6 separate regions of the Homo sapiens genome follow, and all the other regions are linked to region 2. The links are contacts of gene promoters, found by promoter capture Hi-C in blood cells and fetal thymus (Javierre and others, 2016). All regions are on one chromosome and are shown on one strand. Each heading gives the region's core, a stretch centred on a gene start or on the middle of the fragment in contact. The rest is flanking DNA. Distances are from core to core; before and after follow the strand shown. Region 1 has its middle 40 kb from the start of LINC01265. Region 2 holds the start of EGFLAM-AS2 (EGFLAM antisense RNA 2). Region 3 overlaps OSMR-DT (OSMR divergent transcript). Region 4 overlaps OSMR-DT (OSMR divergent transcript). Region 5 overlaps OSMR (oncostatin M receptor). Region 6 overlaps OSMR-DT (OSMR divergent transcript).

Region 1 (3,769 bases), core at 329-2,828, 280 kb before region 2:
CAAAATAATTGCACAGATCCGACCCGACGATGTACAAAGAAAGCTTTTGAAAGTTATCGAGACTATATCAATGTCTGGTACTGTTGCAGTGAGATGCCAGAGGCAGAAATGAGAACTTGATTTGAGAATATCTAAAAAATGTCTGGCAGAAGGCAGAGAAATGCACTAGTGTGGGCAAATACAAATTGTTTTTGTTTCTATTGGGTTTTCCTTTGGGATAAATTCCTGGAAATTTTTTCTAAACTTGTGCACAGTAAAAGACTTATTCCAAATAACTCCGTTTGGAGATATGTACTCTTCAGAGGTAATGGGAAATGTGAATCGAATGAGCATCATATTAGAATCATGCATTACAATCTTCAAATAATTAATATGGCTTGAATTAATCTAACCATAGAATTACTATTCTAAATCAAATGTTGTTCTGAAATCCAAATATGTGAAGTCCAATTTGTTTTCCTTCATTCCCTAATTTTTAAGTTCTTTCCAAAAGAATTAGCAAATTTCCCTGGACTCACTTTCTCTTTTTAAATCCCCAAAGTCACTTATTTCTTAACTGGTTTTGGTTGCGTTATAACTGCATTTGTTGGATTGTTCCAGCTCGAAAGTTGGCTATTTGACAACATATAAAGGGCCAGCTAATTCTACTTGGGAAATTACTGCTTCAGTGAACTTACTAAATAACACCCTAATGAATTGAAAGAGTTAAAACAAGTTTCTAAACAGCTTCATTTCCAATCAGGGAATAGCTTATGTGCTGGGAGCTTGTGTCAAAACATAAAGAGTTATGAATTCCTAACAAAATAACTGTCCAACAAAGAAGAAAACCAGCAGATGATATATGGAGAGAATGTCATATCCTGGAGCCAAAATGTAAAATGGAAGATGTATTCACCAGGCCTACAGATGAGGCAAGTCTATATAACTTGAGCTTTCAGTCCCTCTGCAAGTGAACAACTGAAGATAATGATCCCGCACCCCTGTGCTGATTGCATCATGAGCTTGCTTGTGTTCTGATGTTTAGCATTGTTACTGGGAGGATGGTACCACCATTTTGCCAAATAACCCAAGTTTAAATATTCATTTTATGTCATAGGTTCCTGCCAATGTGCATAGCAGGTTTATAAATTGTACTTTTGTTTATAGGCTTAGTCTCAAAAGCAAAAAAGCTTAAGGTTTTCTATTTTGATTGAAGTAGAAAACACGTGAAGATATTTGCTCAATCTGGCTACCTGGTATGGCATGCAAGGTTTGTACATTTTAAATGTGGCATAGGAACATAAAATGATATTTAAAAAGTAATCTTCTAGAACTTAGAAACCCTAAGGAATTTTGTCTCTTTTCAGCACATTCTCGTTGGGAGGTCATATACTGACTCTAGTTGTCTTGTTTTTCCTCTAAACATTTGGAACTCCTCTCGCAGAATTGTCTTCAGAGCCTGCAGAGCATTTTTCTGAAAGTCCTACTCTGTGCCAAGTCTTCTTCCTTTGGGGTGGGATGGGGGATGGGAGTCAGTGGAAGACAGTGAATTTAATGATTTCTGGAAAGAGCCAAAAGTCATCCAGAGGCCAAGCTGGTCAATGGCATGAGTATAACCATTTGGGGTTAAAAAAAAAAAAGAAAACAAAAAGACTGTCTATAAAGTGTGGAGCCTGGCCCTGTCGTCCAGCCTGTGAAGTGATGATTTGAAGGCAGTCCTCCAAGAGGCGTTCCCAAGCAGTTTGGCCCATGACTGTCATTCTCTGAATAAATGTATAGAATCTTCAGAAGTGGCTACTTTTGAAGTAGTATTTCAAACACTCATTTTTATATGATCCAGAGTTTGGTTCACAAACCATCATCGTCATACATAGAGAAGAGTCATCATTTGCTGTGGATCTGGAATCAAGATAAAGACTGGTAAACACATTTTCTTGATAACACAGAGAAAAGAAAATAATTTGTTGTGAATGTCTTCATTGTTCTTCCTCCCCCCACCCCAAGCTTGGTTAGGATTCAACCATTGTTTATGCATCTACAGTATATGCCCTAATATAAGGCAATGTCAAATATGAGACACTCCCATTGCCCAAGTAAATGCTCCCCTTCCCGTCACCAAAAATTCTAGGAACATAGCTAAAAATCATGAATCATCTGCTTAAAAATAGTTAATGTATTAATTTAGTTATACACATATTATAAATCATTTTATATATACTTATAAAATTGATGTGTTAATATCGTTTTATATAAGCATATTAACTTTTTATTTTTTTGAGACAGGGTCTCACTCTGTCACCCAGGCTAAAGTGCCACTGCCATGATCATGTGAGACATGATCATGGCTCACAGTAGCCTCAGCCACCCCAGGCTCAAGTGATCCTCCCACCTTAGCCTCCCACATAGCTGGGACTATAGGTGCACACCACCATGCTCAGCTAATTTGTATATTTTTTTGTTGAGATGGAGTCTCACCATGTTGCCCAGACTGGTCTCAAACTCCTGGGCTCGAGAGAACTACCCACCTTGGCCTCCCAAAGTGCTGGCATTACAGGCATGAGCCCCCATGCCCAGTCCCATTTTATATATTATCTTATATTTCACATAAAGATATCTGGTAATTGACATATTTTTCCTCCATCATATCTCAATTTTATCCCAAGCCACAGCATAGTATTAGGACAGTTTTCTCTCATTCTTCCTGAAGTTGCATATTCTGAATGTTTACTATGCAATCACTTACTGTAATACTTCAAAAAAGTGATATTTAAAAGGCTCACTCACATTAACACCCATTCTTGAAAATGTAAGGCCATTCACCCAAATGAAAGAATGATTAAATATTTATCAAAGTTCACAAATCCTACTTATAGACATTCAAATCTAGCATTAATTCAGGGTGTTTCAGGATAATGTGTCTTCCCTGAAAAGAACTGTGTTATTCAAAATTAAATAGTGAAGAAAACATCCTATGATTGGTGCCAATGAAAATAAAATGGTTCCTTCTTTCCAAGAAGAAATTTTGGGACATCAGTACCTGGTATTTGACTGTAAGTAGAGTTACAGATTTGCTCTGTCACCCTAAAAAGATTGAACATCTTTTTTTTTTTTTTTTTTTTTTAAGACAGGATCTCACTGTGTCACCCAGGCTGGAGTGCAGTGGCGTGATCTCGGCTCATTGCAACCTCCACCTCCCAGGCTCAGGCAATTCTCCCACCAATTGAACATCTTTCTGTATTTTCATTTCTGTTGAAAGGGCTAAAACAGATAGCCAACAGAAGTCAGAGTTCACAGGAAGAATTGTGATTAGAAAGACAGTGCTGAATGGACACTGGTCACTCAGAAAGAGGGAGGGTGGAAAGAGGGCTAGGAATAAAAAAACTACTTATTGGGCTGGGCGCGGTGGCTCATGCCTATAATCTCAGCACTTTGGGAGGCCAAGGCAGGTGGATCGCGAGGTCAGGAGATCAAAACCATCTTGGCCAACATGGTGAAACTACGTCTCTACTACAAATACAAAAATTAGCTGGGCATGGTGGCGCATGCCTGTAATCGCAGCTACTCAGGAGGCTGAGGCAGGAGAATTGCTTGAACCAGAGAGTCGGAGGTTGCAGTAAGCCGAGATGGCACCACTACACTCCAGCCTGGTGACAGAACGAGACTCGGTCTAAAAACAAACAAACAAACAAAAAACACTACATATTGGGTACAATGTACAGTATTCAGTTGAGGAGTGCACTAAAGTCTGAGGCTTCATCACTATACAATTCATCCATGTTACCAAAACCCA
Region 2 (3,312 bases), core at 250-2,749:
GGGGAACATTCAGTTGGCATTTTTATTCAACTGTCATCCGCAGAATCCACTGATCCACAGCGCTCTGATTTAGGTTGCACATGGGAAACACTCCACCAGGAGGTGGCAGCCTTTTAAAGAGCGGCTCCAGGGCACCTGCATGTCCTCACAGTGGATTTGGGCCAGCACAGGTATTAACTTGCTGCCCTCTCTCAACTGAAAAAGCCAGGCACCAGCCTTTAGGGCAGTAACAACTTTGGCAACAGAAACTGGCTTTGGTAGGATGCTGCCACTCATTAGTTATTAGACATCCAGTGTTTGGATGCCTAGTGGAAAAGAAAAAGGAAAAATAACATAAAAAGCATAAAAAACATAAACTAAACTTAAAGACATTTTGCTTTCAGAATAAGCTAAGTCATGCACCATTCTCAGGAAGACAAACTCACCCTCCTACATTGTCTGTCCAGGCTGCTACAACAAAAGTACCATAAACTGATGGCTTGTAAACCACAAACATTTATTTTTCACAGTTCTGCAGGCTGTGAAGTCCCAGATCAAAGGGCTGGCAGTATCTGATGAGGGCACAGATGGTGCCTTCTCACTGCATCTTCACATGGTGGAAAGGGCAAACCAGCCCCTTTGGGCCTCTTTAATAAGGGCACTGATCCCATTCACAAGGACTCCACCCTTATGATCTAAGTACCTCCCAAAGGCCCCTCCTTGGGGGTTAGGATTTCAACATATGAATTTGAGGGAGACATAAACATTCCGACCATAGCACTCCTCCAAACAGAATAGCAATCAGATTGAAAATGGAGTGGAAGGAAATGGCAGAAAGTCATTTTTGTCAGGGGGCGTGCTGTTGACCAGAAATCAATCTCCTCCCAGACCAGACGAGAGAAGTGCAGTCAGCAGATGATGCAGATGACCCAGAGACAGGGTGGAGTGAGCTGTTCTCAGGGGTTCGGGCACTTCTTGGTGGAGGTGGGATAACAAAGGGGAGGCGGTGTTCTCATCCCTTCCACACCAATTCCCCAGTTTTATTTAAAGTAGTCCACCTGTCAACTGAAAATTCAACCTGTCGATGCCAGATTTATACCTGGATGCATGTTCTCTCAAGCCACCTGCATGCAGCGTATCTGTGTGCCAGATGTCTTCACACAAAAGGCCCTTGAGGACAGCTCCTTCCTCTTGTCTCTATCTTTGTACAGCAAGCAGTCCCCCTTATCTGTATTTTTGCTTTCTGCAATTTCATTTACCCTCGATCAACCACAGTCCAAAAATATTAAATGGGAAATTCCAGAAATAAACAATTCATAAGTTCTGAGTAGCACGATGAAATAGCACACTGCCCTGCTCCATCCTGCCTGGGATATGAATCATCCCTCTGTCTGGCATATCCGTGCTCCATATGCTCCCTGCCCCATGGTCTGCAGCCGTCTCAGTTGTCAGATTCACTGTCATGGTATCGAAGTGCTTATGTTCCAGTAACCATTATCTGACTTCATAATGGCCCCACAGTGCAAGAGCAGTGATTCTGGGATTCAGATATGCCAAAGAGAAGCCATGAAGTGCATCTTTTAAATTAAAAGGTGAAAGTTCTCAACTGAATTAAGGAAAGAAAAAAATCATATGCTGAGGTTGCTAAGATCTATGGCAAGAATGAATCTTCTATCTGTGAAACTGTGAAGAAGGAAAATGAAATTTATGCTAGTTCTGCTGCATATATAGGGTTCAGTATTATCTGCAGTTTCAGGTATCCACTGGGAATCTTGGAACACATCCCCTGCGGAGAGGGAACTACTGTATCTATCTCTCTCGGCCCCTCTCTCTCTTTCTCTTTCTCCCCTCTGTCCTTTCCCTCACTCTTCATTTCTATCTCTGCCTCTCTCACATATTCAGAATTGTTAGATTCCAGAAGAAGAAATCCATTTGGTAGTAAAAGAATTATACAGCACATACATAAAGCAAGCTGGCTTTTGTCTTCAGTAGTTTGGTCTCTCTCCTTCCAGGCTGTTCTTCCTTGCCCTGTGCACCTTATTAACACATTCTCAACAAGGTTAAGATTCTCTTCATCTTTATCCTATGATTTCCTATCTGAAAAATCACCTTCAGTGACTCTCCACTGCCTACAACATAAATTCTAGGCTTCTTGGTCAAGAATTCAAGGTTCTCAATTAAAACAGCTCCTTTTTTCCTCCTTCTTCCCCCATCACCATGATTTATTGAATTCTACTCCATCTCCTCTTCTTATCAGGTACTATTGGGTGCTTAACATGATATATTTCTAAACTTTTCAATAATCTTACAAGGTAAGTATGACTAATCCATTTTATACATAAGAAAACTGAGTTAAGAGTAGTTAAGTAATTTACCTAAAATTGAAGACTTTATAACTGGCTGAGCTAAACTCAAATCCAAGGTCTGTCTGGTGACTGCTCTCCTAATCGCCTATTGCAGAAGAAGCCACTGTGGAGGTAGAAAGATCCTAGAATTTGAGAAAATTACCATATGTTGATCATTCTTAGTGTGCCAGGAGCTTTTCATACATCGCTTAAGTTAATCCTCACAAAATACTATAAAATTGGTGTTATTACTTCCATTTTACCAAGTGGAGATATAGACACAGAGAGATTAAATAACTTGCTCAAGGCAGACAGATGGGGAATGGCAGGGCTAGATTTTATCCTTGGTCTCTCTTTTGACTACATCATGCTACTTAATCTGAATCCTAATTATGTTTTCAGGTTTTTGTTGTTTTTTAAAAAATACTCTTTAAAAGCTATATAATAGCCAAACTGGCCTGCCAGTTGTCTCCTGAATGCATCTTGTATTTTCTTACCCTAGGATTTTGGTTAATGCTTTTTCCCATTGTCATCTTTTTCCCACTCCTATCTCCTTACACACAGCCTACCTATTCTCCCAGAGGGCATGCATTCTATGGAGACAGAGCTGAATGTGTGCCATCAGAAGACCAAAATCAAGCGACATTTTAAAAAGAAAACAGACTCTTCTGGGAAAAATGGTGACTCCACAAAGTAAGAAGCCACCAAGACTTGTAGGACATTCCTTCATCTTCTCCTGGATGGGGCAACCCAGCCATGGATATATGCCTCCAATCAGCATAAATGCCCATTGCTTGATAAAGTCAACACACGTGTAAGATGGTATGTAGATCTTCTGGGCTCCTGGCCTTAGACTCTTGCCCTTGTGTTTACCAACTCGATTGTAAATCCTTTGAGGGCAGAAACCATATTTTAGATTTCTTCATATCCTTTCCCTTCCTCCATGTCACTAACACTTCATGTACTCAACAAAGGTCAACACCTTTGA
Region 3 (3,859 bases), core at 305-2,804, 400 kb before region 2:
GGGGCATGGAAAATGGGAAGGAATGACATTTTCTGCCTTGGTAATTGTTTGTGCATAGATGCTTTATGGCCTAGTAATCTACTAAACAGCTGGTACCATGTCCTGTACTGAATAGAGGGAGATAATCTTCTTAAATTTTGGTTGGATCCCAGCCTCTCTTACCTTTCCTGAAGTTAATATTGCAGTGCCTAAAAAGGCTCTTTTCCCAAGGATTCTGTAAAGTCTAATAGCATTACAGAGCATGGGAGGGGTGATGAAACCAGCCAGCTTGCTCTATTTTACTGCCATAAGTGCAAACCTCTACACCTAGGGGTGTGTGTGTGTGTGTGTGTGTGTGTGTGCACGTGCATATGTATGGGGCAGGGAAGGGAAGGGAGATTATGGGAGAGAGACCTTCCTGGGCATTGGAAAGGTGACTGTGATGGTTAGTTTTATGTGTCAACTTGGAGAGTATTTTTGGATGAATTTAACATTTAATTTGATGAACATTAATAGCAGATTGCCCTCCATAATGAGGGTGGGTCTTAGCCAATTGAAGGCCTGAATAGAACAAAAAGACCAGCCTCCCCGAGCAGGGGTGAATCCTCCTGCAGACCGCCTTTGGACCTCATCTGCACCATCAGCCCTCCTGGGTCCCTAGCCTACCAGTCCACACTATAACAGCCTGCATAACTGTGTGAACCAATTCCTTATAGTAATTCTCTTTATATATGTACAAGTATCTCCATCCCATCGGTAGATCCCCATCCAATAGGTCTGTTTCTCTGGAGAACTCTGACTACTCCAGTCTTTTGTGAACTTCCCTATTTCCTCACTCTTCTCTTCTCTCTTTACATCCTACAGTTGTTTCCCTTAAGTCTTCATCCCCTCTGTTATTGCAGGTGGGGTTCCCTGGGAAGCAGACTCTGAGACAGAGTTAAGAGTACAGGATGTTTATCAGGCAGTGCCCTTGGGATCAACATCTGGGAAAAGGATGGAGCAGAGTAGGATTGGGTTGAAGGAGAAGTAGAACTTCGAAGTGACCAATAGCAACCTCAGCCAACTGCAAGGGGAGCTCTGAAGCTTACATGGCCTGCCAGACCTGTTCCATGCTGGGCTGAAAGGCAGGCCCCAATGTGCCAACCTCAATCAGCCATTAAGTGTGGGCTGCCTGCGGGACAGCAAGCCCTTGGGTCAGGCATCTCTCTGCAGCTAAGACTGACCTGAAGGGCTGGAGGTGAAGGCTGTCCACCACCTGCACCCCTGACAGGTGAGGCAATGGGGCCTTCCTGCATGTGGAAGCTGGGTGGTGCGTCTTTATGTCCACCATACCTTAGTTGGAGACTGTCATCCACCTGTAGACATTTCCCCCATTTTTAAGTACCTGATGATTATCCGGATGCTTAGCTACCCCCAATAAAGACAACAGTTCTCAACCTCTCTTGGAGCTAGGTGCGGCTCTGTGACTCCTTTTTGGGCAATGGAATATTAGCAGAAATGTGTGTGCAGCTTCCACAGCGTATCCTTAAGTGGAAGAGTAGGTGTTTTTCTTCTCTCCTTTTCCTTCTTACTGACTGGGAGACAGATGTAATAACTTGGGCTCCAGCAGCCACTTGGACCATGAAGTTACCTTGGAAATGAAAAGTGTATGTGGCATAAAGTTAGAGAAGACTCTTCGCCCCGTAGATTATTTACCAGCCCAGCTCTGGCTGCCTCTAGACCTCTTGAACATGAGAGAGACGTAATCTTTCTTATTTCAGTCACTCTCACTCAGGAATTTTCTGTTTCTTACAGCTGAAACCAATTCTGATATATAGATAGTCCCTGACTTATGATGGTTTCACTTACAATCTTTGGACCTTAAGAGGGTATGAAAGTGATACATATTCAGTAGAAGGCAATAGGATACTCTCTTTCGATGCTGGGTGGTGCCAGTGAACTGCAGCTCCCAGTCAGCCACGTGATCGCAAGAGTAAACAACCAATGCTCTGCTGTGTACCGTATTCAGTAAGTTACATGAGATATTTGACACTTCATTGTAAAATAGGCTTTGTGTCAGAAGCTTTTGCCCAACTCTAGACTAATGTAAGTGTTCTGAGCACGTTTAACATAAATGAGACTAAGCTATAATGTTCAATAGGTTAGGTGTATCAAATGCATTTTGACTCATGATATTTTCAACTTCATAATGGGTTTATCGGGATGTAACCCCACTATAAATCCAGGATCATCTGTATTATCTCATCGTTCTTCCTCTACTTCTCTTGCTAAGATAAAGCCCACCACTGCATAGAAAAATAATCAAGTCCTACACCATTGGGTTCTTTCTAGTGTCTTGAAACCTCAGTCATCATCTCCAGTGGTCTTTCTCCTTGGCCCATGTCTATTACTCTGGCCTCTGAGACCACTGGCTTGGAGAGGGGGTGGTATACATATAGGACTCAGCTTTGACCAGTGGGAAAGAGTGAAGGGACTTTTACTCTGACCTGTGACTAGTTCTCTCTCTGAATCTCCAAATTTAAAGTCACCTCATATAACAAGGATTAATTTCCTTCTAAATATACCCATTTGATTTGCATGAAAAACTCATATTCCTTCTATTTGCATACATTTGGCTCTATTTCATGCAAACCAGGGCTGAAACCCTTTAGTAGTATTGAAGCCTGTTTTTAGTGCTGTAAACCTTTTGAGAGGGACTCGGCTTCTCCTTGCTCTGGGTTACATTGTCATATTGTATTACCCTCACTGACAATGAAGGGTTTCCACCCAAATGGCTTTCCCCATCCTTAGAGTAAGGGCTGGGGATGGAATAAATTTCACTTTCCTTTGCATTCCAAACCTGGGGGCAACCTGGGCGAAGACTGAGAACTGGGGAGAGTGGAGATAGAAAAAAAAGAGAAAACATTCAGAAGGAGTGGCAGAAAGGCATCCATAACCTATTGTGAAGGACAGTCTCTAAGGTGGCCTCATGATCTTCGCACTGGGATATTCGTGCCCTTATCCCTTCCCTTGAGTGTGGGTGGGCCCTGTGGCTTACTTCTAATCAACAGAATACAGCAAAAGTAATTATATGTAGGTGACCACAATTTATACTCCTACCTCATGAGGAGCCCCCCTCTTCTGCTGCCTTTGAAGAAGAAAGCTGCAGCATCGTGAGCTGCCCATAGAGAGGACGGTGTGGCAAGGAGCTGAGAGTCTGTCTCTGACCAACAGCCAACAAGAAATGGAAGCCCTCAGTCCTGTAACTGCAAGGAACTGAATGCTGCCAGCAACCTGAAAGAGCTCAGAACTGGGTTCTTTTACAGTTAAGACTGCCACCCCAACTAACACCTTGATTGCGGCCTTATGAGATCCTAGGTAGAGGATCCCTGACCCATGGAAACTGTGAGATAATAAATGTGTGCTGTTTTAAGCTAGTAAACTTCTGGTAATATTGCTACACAACAGTAGATAATTAATACATCCATAATAAGGACTTTGGCCTTAGAAAGGGAAAGGAAATTCAAATTTGTTTGATGAAGACTTTTGAGAGCAAAATAACTGTTCTCTGGAAGACTGGGGTGGTGAGAACAACGCTTTGCTGTATGCTGTGCTAACAATTTTTAAGTGAGAAAAGGGAGAGAAAGGGAATAGTTGATCTCTTAGAGTGGGGGGTTGAAGCCAAACAAAAATCTATATTTTATAAAAATGACCAGCATGGGTTTGAATCATCGTGCTAGAGGAGGTGGAGGCTGTGGTGCTGGTGGTGAGATGTTAGAGAAATTTCTGCCCTCAAATTTGTGGGTGGCAGGTGACAGACACCAGGATGCTTCACAGGCCAGAGCTTCTGAGATGGGTCCCATCTGGTTCCATGGGCTCTGTGTCAGAAGGCCTGTGCTTG
Region 4 (3,807 bases), core at 14-2,513, 380 kb before region 2:
TGTAATTCCAGCACTTTGGGAGGCCAAGGCAGGCAGATCATTTGAGGTCGGGAGTTCAAGACCAGCCTGACTAACATGGAGAAACCCCGTCTCTACTAAAAATACAAAATTAGCTGGGCATGGTGGCCCATGCCTGTAATCCCAGCTACTTGGGAGGCTGAGGCTGGAGAATCGCTTGAACCTAGGAGTTGGAGGTTGCAGTGAGCTGAGATTGAGCCATTGCACTCCAGACTGGGCAACAAGAGCGAAACCCTGTCTCAAGAAAAAAAAAAAAAAAAAGAAAACTCAACCATCTATAAAATAGATAAATATGTATCGATATAAATCATGAATTTATACTGATACTTCCAGTTCTAATTCAACATACTGTTCTTTGACAGTGAGAAATCTGGCCCTGTTATCCTAAATATATTTACCTGTTTAATCCTAGAATATACTGAAAGCAGTTTCATAATTGCTGATCCATACAACAGTGATAAACAACTCAACTAACTAGACTTTAATATTTATTCATCATTCTTATCTTCAGCTTAAGGGTTGTATTAGCCTGTTCTCATGCTGCTATTAAGACATTCCTAAGACTGGGTAATTTATAAAGGAAACAGGTTTAATGGAGTCACAGTTCCACATGGCTGGGAGGCCTCACAATAATGGTGGAAGATGAAAGAAGAGCAAAGGGACATCTTACATGGCAGCAGGCAAGAGAGAGCTTGTGTAGGGGAACTCCTCTTTATAAAATAATCAGATCTCATGAGACTTATTCACTGTCATGAGAACAGCACAGGAAAGACCCACTGCCATGATTCAATTACCTCTCACTGGGTCCCTCCCACAATAGGTGGGAATTATGGGAGCTACAATTCAAGATGAGATTTGGGTGGGGCACAGCCAAACCATATCATTCCACACCTGGCCCCTCCCAAATTTCATGTCCTCACGTTTCAAAACCAATCATGCCTTCCCAACAATCCCCCAAAGTCTTAACCCATTTCAACATTAACTCAAAAGTCCACAGTCCAAAGTATAATCTGAGACAAGGCAAGTGCCTTCTGTCTGTGAGCCTGTAAAATCGAAAGCAAGTTAGTTACTTCCTAGATAAATGGGGATGCATGCATTGGGTAAATACACCCATTCCATATGGGAGAAACTGGCCAAAACAAAGGGGCTACAGGCCCCATGCAAGTCCAAAATCCAACACAGCAGTCAAATCTTAAAGCTCCAAAATGATCTCATTTGACTCCATGTCTCACATCCGGGTCACGCTGATGCAAGAGGTGGGTTCCCACGGTCTTGGGCAGCTCTGACCCTGATGGATTTTCAGGGTATAGCCTCCCTCCCAGCTGCTTTCATGGGCTGGCATTGAGCCTCTGTGGCATTTTCAGGCACGCAGTGCAAGCTGTTGGTGGATCTACCATTCTTGGGTCTGGAGGATGAAGGCCCTCTTCTCACAGCTCCACTAGGCAGTGCCCCAGTGGGGACTCACTGTGGAGGCTCCTACCCCACATTTCCCTTCCACACTGCCCTACAGAGGTTCTCCGTGAGGGTTCCACCCCTGCAGCCAACTTATGCCTGGACATCCAGGCATTTCCATGCATCCTCTGAAATCTAGGCAAGGGTTCCCAAACCTCAATTCTTGACTTCTGCACACTCACAAGCTCAACACCATGTGGAAGCTGCCAAGGCTTGGGTCTTGCACCCTCTGAAGTCATGGCTTGAAGTCATGGCTTGAGCTGTATCTTGGCCCCTTTTTGCCACAGCTGGAGCACCTGGGAGGCAGGGCCTCAAATCCCTAGGCTGCAAGAGTAGGAGGGCCTTGGGCCTGGCCTATGAAACCATTTTTTTCCTCCTAGGCCTCTGGGCCTGTAATGAGAGGGGCTGCTGTGAAGGTCTTTGACGCCCTGGAGACATTTTCCCCATTGTCTTGGTAAGTAACATTTGGCTCCTTGTTACTTTTGCAAATTTCTGCAGCCTGCTTGAATTTCTCCACAGAAAATGGGTTATTCTTTTCTATAGTATTGTCAGGCTGCAAATTTTCTGAACTTTTATGCTCTGCTTCCCTTTTAAACATAAGTTCCAATTCCAAACCATATCTTGGTGAATACATAAAACTGAATGCTTTTAACAGCACACAAGTCACCTCTTGAATGCTTTGCTGCTTAGAAATTTCTTCCACCAGTTGCCCTAAATCATCTCCCTCAAGTTCAAAGTTCCACAAATCTCTAGGGCAGGGTTAGAATACCACCAGTCTCTTTGCTAAATAACAGCAAGAGTCACCTTTGCTCTAGTTCCCAAAAAGTTCCTCATCTTCTTGTGAGACCACCTCAGCCTGGACTTTATTGTCCATATCACTATTAGCATTTTGGTCAAAGTCATTCAACAAGTCACTAGGAGGTTCCAAACTTTCCCACATCTCTCTGTCTTCTGAGCCCTCCAAACTGTTCCAACCTCTGCCTGTTACCAAGTTCCAAATCCACTTTCACATTTTTGGATATCTTTACAGAAGCACCCCACTACCTGGTGCCAATTAACTGTATTAGTCTGTTCTCATGCTACTAATAGAGACATACCTGAGACATGGTAATTTATAAAGGAAAGAGGTTTAATGGCCTCAAGTTCCATATGGCTGGGGAAGCCTCACAATCATGGTAGAAGGTGAAGAAAACCATCAGAAAACCTTTATAAAACCATCAGATCTTATTCACTATCCCAAGAACAGCATGGGAAAGACCCAACCCCATGATTCAATAATCCCCCACCAGGTCCCTCCCACGACTTGTGGGAATTATGGGAGCTACAAGATGAGATTTGGGTGGGGACACAGCCAAACCATATCAAAGGTATACCTCTATTATACCACTTTTGACCAATTATTTGTTTACAAAATGTTTTTCTACTAGAACATAAGTGCATTGAAGGCAGGGACACATTTTTGCTTTTTTAAAAACGTGTCCAAAGCCTAGCAAAGGATCTGAGACATGTAAGGTACTCCATCAATGGTAGTTGAATTAATCAATGAATGACTCAAACACTCAATTATTCCCATTGCCTATAGGAGGAAGTCTATTATTCAAAGCTTCTTACAAATCCTGTGTCTCACATTTCCCTAATGGATCTTCCTGTACATAGAACCAACTATCTATCCAACATATCTTGCATTCCCAGCCCTCTGCCCTCTTATTTATGCTATTCTTTTTGTCATGAATGTTATTTCTCTAGTCTTTCCACTTTAATATCATTTAAATAAATCTTTTTAAAAATATCTCATTTAAATCTCTCTTTTTAAGAACAAAATGCTCATAACATATTGCTCTGAATTCCTTAGTCTGTATATACACTAAGTTATATATAATATTATATATGTATATATAATCATGCATCATAGATACTTTATGCATATGTTCAAACCTTATGCATTTCAGATTGCCATGCTGTCTGTCATCTTCAAATCCTGTGCAGTGCCTATGGCAGTGCTATGCAAGTAGATGGCAATAAATGAAAACTTGCTAAATCAATGAGTGAGTGGCAGGTGACTGTCAGTTATGTGAGTGCAGGCTTCTTAGGAAGTCCTCTAATGCCATCCCAATCTCTCTAATAAAGTAAGTTAGGCTCAAAATACTACTTTTAAGGATTTATTCCTTTGGCTTCCTCTGAATTTATCCTCTTAGTCTCATTCTTAATTTTTATTATTCCAGGATGCTGGCAATGTTTTCCTCTTGATTCTTTAAAAGTAATGGTAGAACCAAATACCCTTCCTATGGTGGACATAAAGGGCTTCAAACATTGAATGAGGTCCTGCAACCAGAGGCC
Region 5 (3,613 bases), core at 692-3,191, 450 kb before region 2:
TCTATTTAGCGATCTCACCAACCCTCTTTCTTTTAACAAAAATAAAGGAAGAGAGGGAGAGAAGAAGGAAGAAAGGAAAACAACTATAATTTAGTTCTTTAGCATGTAATTTTAAAAGAAATCAATTTAAAAATGCTTTCAATCATATTCATTACAAATAGGAAGTACTATCACTAGCAGCATAAATTTAAATAGTTGTACAAGACTGTACACCCAAATGTGGACAAAGGACCAGCAGTATTGACATCACCTGGTAGCTTGTCAGAAATGCAAAATCTCAGGCCAGACCTTAGACCTCTTGAATCTGCATTTAAATAATATCCTCAGGTGATTCATATGCACATTCAAGTTTGAGAAACACTACTATATTTAAAATATATGATATATTTTTGTCTCTTAGGATACTACCAATAAATAAAGGAAATATTTACTGGTTCCTATTACCAATAGGGCACTCTGCAAAACCATGAGTAGGATATAAATATGAAAAAGATCCCAGCTAGCATGTATAAGATACTAACTCTCTACAAGGTGCTTTGCTAAGTGACGTACATGCATTTATTAATTGAATCCTCACAACAGCGCTAAGAAAAGGATTATATTATTATTCCCATTCACAGAGGAGGAAATTAAGGATAAGAAAGTTGACAAGTAATTTATCCAAACTGACCCAGTTAATCTGATGTGTAGCCAATATTTGAAATCAGATAAGTCATTAACCAAAGTTCACATGACACAGTTTCCTTAAAGCTTGGAGCTCATACCAAAGTGGACATTAAAGCATTAAAAATTGCTAACAATTATAAACTCAATAAAATCTTAATTAAAAATAGGATTTTATTAAACTTGACAGGCTATTTGTAAAGAGAAAATGTATGTGATTTATAAAAAAAGTTGTTTTAAAAAGCACAAATATATACCACAAGATTTTCAAAAACACTATAAAGCTACAGTAGTTAACTCAGAGTAATATTGGTTTAGGGAAAAACAAACAAAAAAAAAGATCAATGAAACAGAATAGAATCCTGACACAGACCCTTTTACAAACAGGAATTTATTTAATGATAAAAACAGAATTTCAAATGAGTTGGAAAAAAGATGAATTATTAAATAAATGCTATTGGATCAGCTGTCTAAAACTTTACAAAAATATTAAGTTACATCGTTACCTTCCACTTCGTATCTATCAAGTGGAAAAAGGGGCAAACCCTTTGACACAGGAATACCTCTCCTCAGATTCTCTTCCACAGAAATACTCACACTTGAGCAGGAAGATGAATGTGTGATCTGCTCTGAAGCAACGTTGCTAATGCTGAATGTCCATCAATATAGGAAAGGATGGATAAATTACATTCTATTTCTACTTTAGGATAACATGTAGCTGGCCGGGCGCAGTGGCTCACGCCTGTAATCCTAGCACTGTGGGAGGCCAAGGCAGGTGGACTGCTTGAACCCAGGAGTTCAAGACCAGTCTGGGCATCATGGAGAGACCCAATCTTTACAAAAAATACAAAAAAAAAAAAGTCAGGTGTGGTGTCATGTGCCTGTAGTTCCAGCTTCTCAGGAGGCTGAGGTGGGAGGATCACTTGAGCCCAGAAGGTCGAGGCTGCAGTGAGCCATGATCATGACACTGCACTTCTGCCTGTGTGACAGAGTGAGACCATCTCACACACACACAAAAAGAATAACACGTAGCCATTAACAAAAGAGGTATCTAGAGACAATGGAAAGATCTCTAAGACTTGGAAAGTGAAAAAGCAAGCTGTACAATAAGTATAGTAAGATAATTTGCATATTTAAAACATATGTATATGTATGTATTATGTAAAACTATAGAAAAGAAAAACAAGCCTTAGAATGGTATTATCAAACTTAACCTTCCCTCTTCTGAGTGGGAGGAGGGAGGATGGTGATGGCACGTCTACATTTCACTTCACTTCTATATTGAGTGAGAATGAGTTGTTATTATTTGTATTATTTTTAAAACACAAAAATAGAATACAACGTGGAGTGCACAAATGCAGAGCGACCAGTACAACTAAAATGAGGAGGGAAGGAAGGCTATGAAGCCACCAACACAGCTGTTGGAAAAGAAATTCTCTCTTCATGTAGCTACAAAGAAGCCTGCTTGGAGGAGGGGATTTCTCCAGCAAGGCCATGATATTCTATTTGTTTTGGTTTGGGTTTTTTTCCCCCCATTTTACACATTTTTTAAGCAATCAAGAAGGATTTTCTCCCCCAGCGAAAGGAGGGCCAAGGCTCACAGTTCCTGTAAGTGAGCAAGACCACACTCACTAAGATTCTCTTCTACTGCAGCCAATGAATGCCCCAGTCCTTTCCCACAAGGAAAATACACACCTTCTTCTTGTTAAATACAGTACCACTGATTCCCCTTTGAAAACCGTAACAGTTCTCCTGATTCGGTTTTGTCCTCAGGACAAAAGGGTTACAAAAACATGAGAGATCCAGGAACACCTCTGCATGTGTTCCTGGTCTGTTCAGGTTAAAGAAAAGGGTAGAGGGGGAAAGAACCAGTGTTTATGTGTTCTCCCCAATGCGGCTCGGGTCCCTGCGGAAGAAACACCCAAGACCAGCCTTTTTCTCTCAAAGCCACCTTTGATACAAAAGGCTTAGCCACACCTGCTGGGACAAACGGGAACTGGGACCAAGATGTAAGTCACAAGGAGGCAATTTACAGCAGAGAACTAGCTCTTCCTACAATAAAATGTGAGGTGGTGAGCTTCCTGCCACTGGAGGCACTGAACAAATGCTACGGGGAAAACAAACTGAGTATTTCCTGAAGATTCTGAATAGAAGGCTGTGTTTGGAGTTTGATGCTTTGAAAGCTCAAGAAATGATTCTCAGACACAGCGGAGTTTGGGGACATCAAGGGCTCTGAGTGCATTTTAAAGCAGCCCAGGAGAGAGACAAAGCAAGACCATAATGAAACACCCCACCCAGTCTTAGAGTTTGAGCTACAGCACGGTGATCATGAGCAGACTCCAAACCCAAATCCTGATACTGTCACCTGCTAGCTGTGTAACCCTAGAAAAGTTACAAAACCTCTTTGGGCCTCAGTTTCCTCAATAAAATATAATAAAAAACTAGTACCCGCCTCACCCGTGAAGCTTAAATGAGCTAGCATATGTCAAGTGCTTAGAATAGGGGCTGGTTCACAGTAAGTATGAACCATTATTATTTGCAGACAAGGAAACTAAGAGGTGATAAGTAGTTTGACCCATGTTCCAAAGTCAGTTTTAATCTTGGGAATAAAACCTAAAAATTTCTTTCTCCTCCATCAGAATTCCTTCTAGCTCAAACTAAGTATCCTACATTCAATTCTATCTTCTCTGCCTTCATAGACCCTTCCATTTACTTCTCTTGAATATCTTGTTCCCAAAGTGTTTTCAAGGCAGGTCTGTTACCAAGCCACTCCATCAGCAGCACCTAGCACTGTGCCTCCCGCAGCAAGGCAGGCAGGATGGATGGACGGATGCAGGCATGCATGGGTAGGTGGATGAAGGGCAGATGAAGAACTATCGAGAAAGGAATCGCGGTGTCAGGGGTAAAGCCCTGGCCTGCGAGAGCCGGGCTCGGATTTCAGTGCCCTCAC
Region 6 (3,595 bases), core at 931-3,430, 430 kb before region 2:
GAAAAGGTCCAAAGCAGGAGAGAGAGAGAGAGAGAGAGAGAGAGAGGAGAGAGAGAAGGAGAGAGGAGAGAGAGAGACAGAGAGACGGAGAGAGACAGAGAGACAGAGAGAGAGACAGAGAGGAGAGAGAGGAGAGAGAGAGGAGAGAGAGAAGGAGAGAGGAGAGAGAGAGAGAGAGAGAGAGAGAGCCCCCCTATAGAGCCCTCTAGTGGCTGCTTTTTAGAGAACTGGCCACTTGAGGAATTTGCTTCACGTCTTCCCACCACGGTGCAAAAGGCAAGACTGACATCAGAGGACTTTGATGCTTGGCTACCTGATCCTACCACCACCACCTGAGACTGGCCAGGCACAGCCCTCTAGCTTGACTTTGCCTAAGATGAGCTCTGGGCATTCCCAGAGTGGTACAACTGAAAATTCCTTCCCTGCTAGTTAAAGAAAAAATTGTTCATGGATAATTAATAAAGCCTGTTAAGAAAGACTTTATTCGGACCATCCCATAGGTATAGGGACCACAGCAATGGGATTGCAACTCCAAATACAGCATGGGCAAGTAGAAATGTATAGCCAAGGAGCAGGGTGGTGGTCAGTGGATGGAAAAGTGCTAAGGGAAACCTGAGGAGTAAGGGGGATTCTGTGTAAGGCAACCTCACAAGACTCTTGCTGAAGACAGGCCAGGGTGATAAGACATCACCTGGGAGATGGTGAATGATAAAGAACCTGATCAGATATTGAGGGTGGGTGGGGTAGGGGGTGGTCTTGCTAAACTGACTTAACAGAGTTCTTGCTAAAACTAGATTTTACGAGGAAATACACATATGAGCCTACGAGAGGGTTCAGGACTCTGACTAAAGTTTGGCCAAGCGAAGGATTTTTGTCACGGTGCCCCAATGCATACAGACAAGGAATCTGGCAAAATCCCCAAAGATGTTATCTTATGTGGAATCCCCTGGAAGCACAGGGACACACTGGTAAGGCAATTCCCTGGAGCAACTTAGGTTTCCAATTGCTTCCTTGAAAATATGCAAACTAACTTTTTTAATGACCTCGAGTTATACAAGGTTGAGCAAGTAAGGAAAACATTATATAGGTAGGAAAGAATGGGGGGTGGGATAGGGACACAAAGGAACGTTTAGGTTTGTAAAGTGCTTATTGCGTGCCAGGGATCAGGGCTGCTACCTATACTGGTGCAATGTGCTGGCCCACCCACAAGCTCTAAGGCACCTCTGCACACATTAGAGAAAAGTAGGTGCAGGGTTTAGCAGAAAGACAGAGATTTCGTGTGAAGCCAAACATGCCCTATTCTTGGGTATATGCAGCTGCATGTCGAGACACACAACTTGGCAAGAAAAGGGGACTTGAATGTGGTTCCTGCTCACCTCCGCCCTGCTGGCCAAGGACCTTGGTGGAGTGCACCAACCCCCAGCTATATCAGCAACCTCCAGTTTTGCCAATGCCAAAGGCCCCCAACCAAGAAAAATAGTGAGAGCTAAAATCTAGCCCTTGCTTTGCTGGCCCTGAGCCCTGTGTCAATCTGGAGGGGTCACCCTTGTGTAATAAGCACAAAGTTACCTTTGTGCCAGTGGCCCTGACTGTATGTTGTGTCATCCTCTAATTCCCCTGTGAGGTAGTCAGAGTGGATTTACTGTGAAGCTAATGACACAGACTTTTCCATAGACCCAGAGAGAGGCTCAAGGATTGGTTTACATGGTCATGTTTTGTCCTAACATTTGCAAAAGCAGGATAATTTAACTGTATAATTATAATAATGTAAACTTGCATAAAATTTCACCTAAAAATATTGCCATAGCAACTTTTGAAGACAAGTACAATTATTACCCCATTTTATAACTGAGACAGAGAAAAGCTCAGTAGCATTGCTGTTGAGTGGTAGGTAGAGCTTGAATTTGTTGCAAGCTGGCTGACTCCAAGGCCAAAAGATCATGGGGAATATGTATATTGTTTCCAAGAAGACAAAGTTTCCAAGAGCATCCTACAAGGTGCTGTTCATTCTTGCCCCAAATTCTCCAGATGTCATGAGATATAGAAGAGAAACATCTTTCGATGTTGTTCTAGTCAGAGGAGACTTCTAATAGGCAGAGAACAAGTTATGGAAGCTGTTCCTGAAAGATGCAGTTGTCATTGTGGAACCAGTCTTGGATATTGTGTGGCAGCTGGACCACACAGCCATTGTTATAAAGGAGAGCAATATGCCTTGTGACCCTTGTATTATTTAGGGTATAGTCTTTCAGGGAGAAACAACTTTTCCTCTGTCCTCTTAGGTTCAGTATCTGGGGGCCTGTGAATTAAACTAACAAAAGATAGATTAATGAGAGAAAAAGCGTGCAATTTTTGCTAATATTTATATGCACAAGAGTTCACAGAAAAGAAGTGAAACTCAAAGAAGTAGTTAGACTTCTAGTTTACATATAATTTTAATAAAGGAAAATTTGAACTTCAAGGGATGATAAATCATGGGGAAGTAACTAGGAAATATATGGGGGAAACTAACAGAAGATAAAGGTTCTTTTCCTAAGGTCTGTTATGCAGATTTATCTTGGTGCCAACTCTCCATCTCTGGTGATATAAGTTGCTCTCCTTTTCCTGATACAGGAGATAGACACCATAACAAAGGGAAACTCATGCCCAACTTCTAGGCAGATAAAGGGAGGGTGGAGAACTCTTCTACATCTGTTGATTTTCAGTTGCCTTTGGGTCAAAATAAACCTTACGTTAAAGTGGCATATTTTGGGGTAGCGTATCCTGATCCCCTTCAAGTAAAGAAAAAAAAAAAAACAACAACACTGTGGCTTACCTAAAATCTAAATTTATCTCCCTCCCATTTAACAGTCCAGAATAAGTGGCCTGGGTCGGTAGGACAGCTTTATCATGCTCAATATATGGCTCCCAAGATTTCTTCAGCCAGCCATCACCTAAGGCACAAGTGAGAGTCCCTTTGGTTCAGACAGAATCACATGGTCACATCTAGCTGCTTAAGAAGACAAGAAATTAGTCTCTAGCTGGGCTCGTGTAAAACTTGGGGATTCTTTTACCAAAAAAAATAGAAGGGAAGATGGATATTGGGAGATTATTGGCAGTATCTACCAAAGTCATGAAGCCAACAATGGTTTGACTTAGGGAACTCTGGGGGTTGAGGACTGTGAGTATGATGTAAAAATTAATGTGAATTTTAGGACAAAGAAGATGAATAAGAGAGACAGCTTTCCCTGGGGGTAATGGGATACAGGTTGCACGAGGCAAAAAGAAAAGTGGAGCACAGAGACAGCCACTTCAGGGAACTTTCCTGTGCTGTGGGTGAGGATAATTCCACAACAAGAAGATACAAAGAAAATCTGAGAGTCACTTCTGTTCACTCACAAGATGATTTGCGAGACCCAAGAAGAAGACCTGTTAGCTTAGAGAACAGGGAGAGGATTTTTTTTTTTTTAATGACACAAAGGAGAAAGATTGAAACTTTTCTAGTCTATCCACGGCAGAGTTTATCAATCCTTTACTGAGGAACGATTCACTATCACACAAGGTCTCATGGATGGTAACCACATCCTTCCTCTTCCTTCCTCAACCAACCTCTGTAAAG

What was found. Contacts are between HindIII fragments. The CHiCAGO score rates a contact against its expected background, and 5 or more counts as called.
Region 1: a fragment that was not itself captured here is called in contact with the fragment with the promoter of EGFLAM-AS2 in region 2 in 1 of 17 cell types (endothelial precursors); the score reaches 5.2 in endothelial precursors.
Region 3: a fragment that was not itself captured here is called in contact with the fragment with the promoter of EGFLAM-AS2 in region 2 in 10 of 17 cell types (M1 macrophages, M0 macrophages, M2 macrophages and 7 more); the score reaches 14.5 in M1 macrophages.
Region 4: a fragment that was not itself captured here is called in contact with the fragment with the promoter of EGFLAM-AS2 in region 2 in 4 of 17 cell types (M1 macrophages, erythroblasts, M0 macrophages and 1 more); the score reaches 8.1 in M1 macrophages.
Region 5: a fragment that was not itself captured here is called in contact with the fragment with the promoter of EGFLAM-AS2 in region 2 in 1 of 17 cell types (M0 macrophages); the score reaches 6.2 in M0 macrophages.
Region 6: a contact is called between a fragment that was not itself captured here and the fragment with the promoter of EGFLAM-AS2 in region 2, in 5 of 17 cell types (M1 macrophages, M2 macrophages, M0 macrophages and 2 more). The highest score is 10.9, in M1 macrophages.

Annotation. Positions count from the first base shown.
Region 1 is chr5:38,678,433-38,682,201 of GRCh38, reverse strand. No RefSeq gene overlaps it. Among named protein-coding and RNA genes, the nearest start is that of LINC01265, 40 kb to the left of the region's middle. The HindIII fragment of the contact is 814 bases long and covers 1,172-1,985 here.
Region 2 is chr5:38,401,658-38,404,969 of GRCh38, reverse strand. EGFLAM-AS2 (EGFLAM antisense RNA 2) reads left to right here and starts at 1,499. Exons shown (of 3, transcript NR_102750.1): 1 at 1,499-1,571; 2 at 2,889-3,146. All of the region lies in intron 6 of EGFLAM (EGF like, fibronectin type III and laminin G domains), which reads right to left. The HindIII fragment of the contact is 8,755 bases long and covers 1-3,312 here.
Region 3 is chr5:38,801,506-38,805,364 of GRCh38, reverse strand. The region is part of intron 1 of OSMR-DT (OSMR divergent transcript); the gene reads left to right. Among named protein-coding and RNA genes, the nearest start is that of OSMR-DT, 42 kb to the left of the region's middle. The HindIII fragment of the contact is 979 bases long and covers 1,065-2,043 here.
Region 4 is chr5:38,784,621-38,788,427 of GRCh38, reverse strand. The region is part of intron 2 of OSMR-DT (OSMR divergent transcript); the gene reads left to right. All of the region lies in intron 1 of LOC107986414 (a long non-coding RNA gene), which reads right to left. Among named protein-coding and RNA genes, the nearest start is that of OSMR-DT, 59 kb to the left of the region's middle. The HindIII fragment of the contact is 3,625 bases long and covers 1-3,075 here.
Region 5 is chr5:38,846,848-38,850,460 of GRCh38, reverse strand. The region is part of intron 1 of OSMR (oncostatin M receptor); the gene reads right to left. Among named protein-coding and RNA genes, the nearest start is that of OSMR, 2.6 kb to the right of the region's middle. The HindIII fragment of the contact is 2,378 bases long and covers 753-3,130 here.
Region 6 is chr5:38,828,640-38,832,234 of GRCh38, reverse strand. All of the region lies in intron 1 of OSMR-DT (OSMR divergent transcript), which reads left to right. Among named protein-coding and RNA genes, the nearest start is that of OSMR-DT, 15 kb to the left of the region's middle. RefSeq lists an enhancer at 1,090-2,289. The HindIII fragment of the contact is 6,043 bases long and covers 1-3,595 here.